2 separate regions of the Homo sapiens genome follow, and region 2 is linked to region 1. The links are contacts of gene promoters, found by promoter capture Hi-C in blood cells and fetal thymus (Javierre and others, 2016). All regions are on one chromosome and are shown on one strand. Each heading gives the region's core, a stretch centred on a gene start or on the middle of the fragment in contact. The rest is flanking DNA. Distances are from core to core; before and after follow the strand shown. Region 1 holds the start of MDM4 (MDM4 regulator of p53). Region 2 holds the start of LRRN2 (leucine rich repeat neuronal 2).

Region 1 (3,995 bases), core at 690-3,189:
GGGTTGGGATTACAGGTGTGAGCCACTGCACCTGGCCTCAACAAATACCTGTTGATCTCACACAAACTGAATTGCATGAACAGATCATATTCCAAGGCTCCAGGAGACATTAGGAAAGGATCCAAACTAACCAGATGCTATTTAAAAGTTACAAAAAAAAAATTCCTGTTGAAAGTTTTAAAAAATACTAATTGCACAAAAGGACAGGGGAAATAGTTGACAGTGGTTCACCTAAAAAAGCACCCTTGACCTTTTTTTTTTTTTTTTTGTGAGTGAGGTGGTTGCAGATTTCTATGAAAAAGAAGTTAATTCTTCAGCTCCTTAATGGAACCCTGGATCTCCCAGCTATGCAGGAGGTTATGCTAGAAGTAGAACAAAGCGGAATGTACAAATTTAAGGAAGGTTACTGCCCTGTGTTCTTTTGCATGGGTCTGTATCTAGCATTGGGAGCCAGGTTTTGTTGTTGCTTATTGGGAGAGATAAGAATGGTATATACACAAATAACTAAAAAAAAAATACGTGGTAAATGCTAAAAGACAGGTGCAAAGAACACTGAGATGGAGCTTTCTTGGGTTACACAGCCAGTTTTAATGTTTCCTAATATAGAAGAGCTTTCAACAAACCTCTCAGGCAGGCTGTCTTCAAATGACATTACTTCCCCCAAATACCTAATTTCATTTATTTCAGAACAACTCTAAATGTTAGAGGATTTTCTGAGCTTAAAAATACTGCCTTGTAATTTCTATTGGTTTTAGTTCTGCACTTTGGAGAAGAGAATAAGGCTCCGTTATTTCCAATATTATACTATTCAGTTATTTGAAGACAGCTTCCAATTTCTATGCTCAACCCTTTCCCTCTTTTTTTTTTTTTTTTTTTTTGAGATGCAGTTTCGCTCTTGTCGCCCAGGCTGGAGTGCAATGGCGCTATCTCGGCTCACTGCAACCTCCGCCACCCGGGTTCAAACGATTCTCCTGCCTCGGCCTCCTAAGTAGCTGGGATTACAGGTGACCGCCACCATGCCCCGCTAATTTTTTGTATTTTTAGTAGAAACGGGGGTTTCGCCATGTTGGGCAGGATGGTCTCGAACTGCTGACCTCAGGTGATCCGCCCGCCTCGGCCTCCCAAAGTGCGCTGGGATTACAGGGGAGAGCCACTGCGCCCGGCCTCCCTCGTTTATATGCAGGTTAAAAACTCCCTTGAGCCTTCAACTATTTCTTTTTCTTTTTTTTTTTTTTTTTTGAGGAGTTTCGCTCTTGTTGCCCAGGCTGGAATGGCGCTATCTCGGCTCACTGCAACCTCCGCCTCCCAAGTTCAAACGATTCTCCTGAGTAGCTGGGATTACAGGCATGCGCCACCACACCCGACTAATTTTGTATTTTTAGTAGAAACAGGGTTTCACCATATTGGTCAGACTGGTCTCGAACTCCTGACCTCAGGTGATCCGCCTGCCTTAGGCCTCCCAAAGTGCTGGGATTACAGGCGTGAGCCACAGCGGCTGGTGCTTTCAACTATTTATTTGACATGGCTTCAAGCTTCCTTGCCACCCTAGTGCCGCCATCGCTCCGTTTCCCTTCCCTACCACCCTTGGGGAGTAAGGGTGAGGACTGGGGAATGGCAGAGGAAGCGTAGTTTTTCCGAAGAGCTGAAGGCAGCCTGTGATTATGACCTTAGCTCTTCCTCTTCTCTGTTTTCTGATCTCCTAATACACGTCTGTAAATATCACAAGACCCTGCAAGTCCCTCACTTATTATCTCTTCAAATCTGACGACTTTCAACCGTTCGGGCCCCACGACTCTCTCCCCGGACTAGGATCTACTCTATGGTAGTGAGCTCAGCCTTTCTAGCTCTCTAGTCCTCCCATTGCTCCATCTATGGTTTCCGGAGGCCTCACCGGAAGCCCTCGTGTGAGGCCGTGTGGGAGGCCGGAAGTTGCGGCTTCATTACTCGCCATTTCAAAATGCTGCCGAGGCCCTAGGATCTGTGACTGCCACCCCTCCCCCCACCCGGGCTCGGCGGGGGAGCGACTCATGGAGCTGCCGTAAGGTGTGGCTCTTGGCCTTCGTCGGCGGGGTGCCGGGAGCGGGAGCTGGAGAGTGAGGAGCAGGCGGCCGTACCGCCAGTTGTGCGGGTAGCGGGCGGGAGGAGCTTGAGAGGTGGGTCGGGCGGCGTGGGGAAGGCCGCGCCAGGCGGAAGAAGGGCTCGGGGGGAGGGGAAGAGTTGTGGGATGAGGGCTCGCGGAAGATAAAAGTGGAGGTGGGGTGACGTGAAGTAACTTTGGCCAACAGGTGACAAACCTAAAGTCGACGTAGTTGGATTGAGTTTAACTGGACACAACATTTGAGGACTGTTGAGGCAATTTGGAGAAAGGAGGTGGGAGAGAGGGAACCGGGTAGAATGACATTGACGTGTCTTAAGTTTTTAAGTTAGTTTTTAGGTCTGCGGACAGTCTACCTTAGAGGCACTTGAGTGCTTGTTTGAAAATGCTTGTTTTGGCTTGGCGCGGTGGCTCACGCCTGTAATCCCAGCACTTCAGGAGGCCGAGGTGGGTGGATCTACCTGAGGACAGGAGTTCGAGACCAACCTGGCCAACCTGGTGAAACCCCGTCTCTAGTAAAAATACAAAAATATTAGATGTGTGTGGTGGCGCATGCCTGTAATCCTAGCTACTCGGGAGGCTGAGGCAGGAGAATCACTTGAATCCGTGGGCGGGGGTTGCAGTGAGTCGAGATCGCGCCACTGCACTCCAGCTTGGGCTACAGAGGGAGATTCCGTCTCAAAAAAAAAAAAAGAAAAAATGTTCGTTTTGGGGCCACACTGAAACCTACAGACAGTATCGAGATGGGGCTCAGAGAAATATATTTTAATGAGCACACCTCCCAGTGATTTTTGTATACCTTAAAGCTTGAAAACCACAGGTTTTTTTGGTTGTGTTTTTGTTTTGTTTTTGTTTTTTTTGAGTGGAGTTTCGCTCTTTTTGCCCAGGCTGGCGTGCAGTGGCGCGATCTTGGCTCACTGCAACTTCTGCCTCACGGGTTCAAGTGATTCTTCTGCCTCAGCCTCCCGGGTCGCTGGGATTACAGGTGTGCGCCACCACGCCTGGCTAATTTTGTGTTTTATTAGAGATGAGGTTTCACCAGGTTGGCCAGGCTGTTCTCGAACTCCAGACCTCAGGTGATCCGCCCACCTCGGCCTCCGAAAGTGTTGGGATTACAGGCGTGAGCCACCGTGCCCGGCCGAAAACCACAGTTTAAAAGCAACACCCGGAGAAAATGCTGCAGCTCTGTGCTGTTGGCACGTGGAACTAGTATCTGTCAAAGATACTTGGAACCTCTTGGTGTTAAGTATTACTGTATCTCAGTTTAGATTTAGTCTTCTCTCTCCTCATACATTTTTTTTTTAATAGATGGGATTTCGGCCAGGCCCAGTGGCTCACACCTTTAATCCCAGCACTTTGGGAGGCCAAGGGGGCAGGTTTGCTTGAGTCTCGGAGTTCGACACCAGCCTAGGCAACAAACTGAGCCCCATCTCTGCAAAAAATAAAAAAATCAGTGTCATAGAGCGAGCTTCCAGTCCCAGCTACCCAAGAGACTGAGGTGGGAGGATTGCTTGATCCCAGGAGGTAAAGGCTGCAGCAAGCCGGGATGGAGCTACTGCACTCTAGCTTAGGCGACAGCGCGAGAGCCTGTCTCAAAAAAAGAGATGAGGTCTCACTGTGTGCTCAGGCTGCAGTGCAGTGGCTATTCACAGGTGTGATCATTGCACACTACAGCCTGAAACTCCTGGACTCTAGGGATCCTCCTGCCTCAGCCCTCCGGAATAGCTGGGACTACAGGCACAGGCCACCGGCTGCAGTTGGTTTTTTAAGATTCTATAACAATCGTTAATCTTTAATTAAAGATTTAATCTTCCCAGTTTAATCTTCCCACTTTAATCTTCCCTGCCGTCCCAGGTCCTGTAGAACACCTACGTTCTGGATTTGACTTATTAACTGCTTG
Region 2 (4,058 bases), core at 1,026-3,525, 170 kb after region 1:
ATGAGGGGGAGGAGGAAGAGGGGAGGCACAGGGAAAATAGGATGGGAAGTGAGGAAGAACTGTGTTGAATTAGAGAGGGAACCTGCTGTACTAGCCTGGATGGAATTAGCAGATCTCTGAGATCTTACTGCCACTCGGTGTTTCCCCGGGAGGAGACTGCATTAGGGAGAGGGTGTGGATTTGGGGGTGTTCCTAGGTGCCAGACCCTGGGCAGACCTCAATCTCCCAGGCACTGAGGCCTTTAGTTCCATGCTTTGCAAATAATGAGGACCCATCCCAGGACCAGAGAGAGCCCTCCGCAAGAAGGAGAAGCCTGAGTCAGCACAGGGGAAGGAAGAAGGCCTAGGAGGCTCAGATCCCTAGCTCTGCCCTTCTGTTTCCATCGTTTCGCCACAACAGCACCTGGCCAGGAAAGTGGGTCAGGCCACCCACATGTGGCTTTTTCTGGTAGCCACAGGGCCCAAAGGCAAGGGGGCTCCAGTGCCCAGTGCAGAGCCCACCTCTACCCTCCATGCCCAGTGCTCTTTTTTGAAGGGATCTTTAAGAAGCAGTGGGCAATGGGAGGAGCTCCTGGCCTTCTTATTCAGGGACAAAACGCTGGGCCAGAGCCCATCCTAGACTGGCGGGAAAGGGGGGCACGGAGCCTGCCATCGGCCTGGGTGCATGGGGAGACCTACATCTTCCCCTATGACAGTGACCAAACTGGCAGGGAGTCACCTCTACTGCCCTGACCTAGGGAGGCTGTTCTCCTCACCACCCTAGGTCCTGGAGTTCTCAAGCAGAGGGCCTGTCAGTCCATCTCTGGCAACTGAGCGCTGTGCCCAGCCCACCCCCTCCAACCCTGCCAGTCGCCCAGTTAGAAGCTGCGTTGGCTCCAACAGATGGGAGCTGCGGCAGCCTGAGGAACAGAGCACAAAGCCCAGCTGACATTTTCCTTCCTGTTCGTTTGGGTGGGGGAGGAAGGGTAGGGAGCACAGTGCTACCCCCGGGGCCCCTCCCCAGGTTCCGGGTCTCCTGCACCTCTTTAGCTTCTCCGCTCGGCCCCAGATGGAGCTCAGTTCCCTCACCCCGCGGCTCCTCGCCGGCTGGGCAGCCAGAGCCTGCGCCACCCTTTGCCAGCAGGACAGACGGCCCACCTGTGGCTGGCCAGCCCATCCTGTCTCCTGGGTCCTGCGGTGGGCTCAGAGCCACCCTTCCGTTTCCGCTTCCCCCTGACCGAGTCCCCAGGCTGAGCCCCAGGCCGGCCCATCCCCCACCCCAAAGGTCCCATCCCAGGCTGCGGTCGGACCCCAGCCAGCCGGCCCGGGAGGAGCCTAGCTCCTGGTTCCAGATACTTCAGACAGACCCAAGGCCACCTTGTCCCTCCGCACAGACTCGCGAGCTCCAAGGAGGAGAAAGTCCCCAGGCTCTGGAGCGCTTCCAGCCTGCCAGTCCGCCCGTGTCACGCCCTCCCTAACCTCACTGCCACCTCTCGGCTCCTCCACATCTCCAGGGCCCCACTCTACCCAGCAACAGTTTGGGGGAGGTTCTGGCCTCTCCAGGCGAAGGCCCAGGCGCCCTCTCCCTGGCCGCTTCTGGGCATTCTCCAGCCCTCCGTCCCTCTGCCCCTCGGCCGCCTCCCTCTCCCAAGTCTCCGGCTCCCCCGCAGGCGTCTCGGCGGAAGGCAGCGGCCGGCCCTCCTCTGGCCCCCACCCGGGTCAGGCGGAGCTGCGGTGCCGGGGCAGGAGCCAGGAGCCCTGAGGCGGCTGCTCCGGCCGCTCCCGCCGCGTACGCCTCGGCCACGCCAGCGACCTCGGTGTCCACGATTCCCCGGCGGCGGCGGCGCTGCCCAGGTCAGCCCCGAAGCTGCACACTCACCCCGTGGGCGCCGGGCACCGTCTGCCGTCTGCTGCCCGCGCGGCCGCGCTCCGCTCGCCTTCCGCCCGGGGCCGGGCTGGGGACGCTGGTCCGCGCCCTCCCGCCGCGCGCGCCGTCTGCACAGGCCGGGGAGGCTCGGCGGGCGCCCTCCCCAACGTGGAGTTATCCTGGGAGCGGCTCCAGGGCCCAGCCGGTGAGGGCGATGGCAGAATCCCAATCCGTCCCCACCCCCTCTCCGCGCCCTGGGCGCGTCGCGGCCGGAGGCTGGCGGGCGAGAGCCAGGCGCTCCTTGAGAGCGCCGCGCGTTCGCAGGTGCCCGGAGCAGGCCCTCGCGGCGCCCGGCACCCCCTCCACGCGCGCCCCTCTTCCCGGCTTCGCGCTCGCCCTCCTCACTCGCTTCTCCGCCGCTCTCCCAACCTCCCCAGCCCACTCCGGTCGCCTCCTCCCAGTCTGCATGCCACGCCAACCCCCTCCAGTCCCGCTGCCATTTTAACTCCTGAGTGGCCAGAGGCCCCCTCTACCTAACGCACACACACCCGGGAGGAAGGAGTTGGGTGGGGCCAGACGCTAACGCTTGAGCTGTCCTTGTGCCTAGAGACACAAGGCTTGGCTGAGAGAAGGGGCACAGCCCTTGGGTCCGGGAAGAGAAGGGTTGGCTTCTCTCATACTGCCTCGGACCCTCTTGCAAAGGCCAGGAGACGAATGGGGAATTCAGCAGCTTTGTGAGGACAGGTGCAGCTCACAGTCACAGCATGCACCTAAGATCACATTTTTGCTTTGCATGGTGCTACCCTCCCGAAGTTAACAGTGGACTAAGGAATGTAGTGGGGTGGGTGAGAATTTGTCACTGGGCCCAGGCACCTCTCACCCTAAAGAATGGAGTGGAAGACCCCTTTAGTTGTCATGCTTTTCCAGCATTGCATCCTGAGCCGTGCAGCTCTAGCATTCTGGAAGATTCCGTCCTGGCTCTCAATGAAGGAGGTCAATTTCAGTCAGGAACTGGCAGGCCCAGTTAGGGGTTTGGCTTCAGGGTTCCCCACTCTGCCAGCTGGACATCATGAAGACTGGGGGAGGAAAGTAAGAAGGTGCCAAAGGTGGGTGCTAGGCTGCTGCCTGGTGGCTTAGAAAAGCTGGGTGACTGCCACTAGAGGAGGGCAAAGGCCCAATGCCCAACACCCATGCCTTGGTGGGGACTTCAGCCTGGACCACTCAGAACAGACATCACAAACTCGGCTCCATGGCAGGCCACACCCTACTGATGGGTCTGGACCAGAGCCTGCAGAACCAACAACAGGGGAATGGATGAGGTGGAGGCCAAGGTGTGGAGTCCTGTGAGGAGTGGCTTCCCTGGGCTGCCTGCCGTCATCCAGTGCTTGAGCTTCTGGCCCTGTCTTTTCCAAGGGTACAGCCAGTGGTGACTGCCATGCCTGGTGGCTTTTGTGAAGTTGGCTTGAAGGTCTGAGTTCTGTATGCACAGAGGGGATTCTCACCTTCATATATTGAATGAGCACATATTAAGTTCCCACTAAACCACCCCCATGTTCCCACTCTCCACCCCTGCTACGGAGCATAATGGCCTCAAGGAGCTCAGAGTGACAGGTTGGAACTATATGAAACCAATTTTAATATTTCAAGACGATGGAAGTGCCATAGAAATACAAAAAGAAACCACCTTAATGGACTAGCATTATTCACAAAAGGTTTAACGGAGGAGCTGAGTCTCCAACTGAGCCTAGTTGGAGGGATAGGATTTGAACTGGAAGAGAATATGGGGACCAGCAAAGGCAGGAAAGTGGAGACAAGCAGAGTAGAATGGGTTGTCTGGAGGGTAGGGGGCAAGGGAGGAAAATTATAGAGCTACTATTAGATGCCAGCCTTTTCTCATCTCTGTCATCTTAGACTCTGAGTTGACTAATATCCCCTTTTAACAGACCGGGGGATGGAGGCCCAGATCGTTTAAGGCAGTAGCCCAAAATCTGTAGGCAGAATGTGAGACCTCATTTTCACAGTGCGACAATGCCACATTGAGTATACAGGGTGGGAGCAGCTGATGAAGGGCCCGAATTGCCAGGCTCAGCAGTTTATCTGTGGACCCATCCTCAGGTGATTTGGGATGAAAGAGGCAGGAGGATGGGAGACTATTGAGGTAGCTGTTGCAGGAATCTAGGAGGAGGGGAGCAGTGAGAATAGAGTAAATGCAT

What was found. Contacts are between HindIII fragments. The CHiCAGO score rates a contact against its expected background, and 5 or more counts as called.
Region 2: the fragment with the promoter of LRRN2 here is called in contact with the fragment with the promoter of MDM4 in region 1 in 2 of 17 cell types (erythroblasts and fetal thymus); the score reaches 9.1 in erythroblasts.

The regions. Positions count from the first base shown.
Region 1 is chr1:204,514,467-204,518,461 of GRCh38, forward strand. It overlaps MDM4 (MDM4 regulator of p53), which reads left to right and starts at 1,940. Exons shown (of 11, transcript NM_002393.5): 1 at 1,940-2,043. RefSeq lists enhancers at 422-1,333, 1,194-2,393, 1,334-2,244, 1,683-1,812, 1,823-1,902 and 1 more. The HindIII fragment of the contact is 1,369 bases long and covers 1,531-2,899 here.
Region 2 is chr1:204,683,463-204,687,520 of GRCh38, forward strand. LRRN2 (leucine rich repeat neuronal 2) reads right to left here and starts at 2,276. Exons shown (of 2, transcript NM_201630.2): 1 at 1,858-2,276. The HindIII fragment of the contact is 5,264 bases long and covers 1-4,058 here.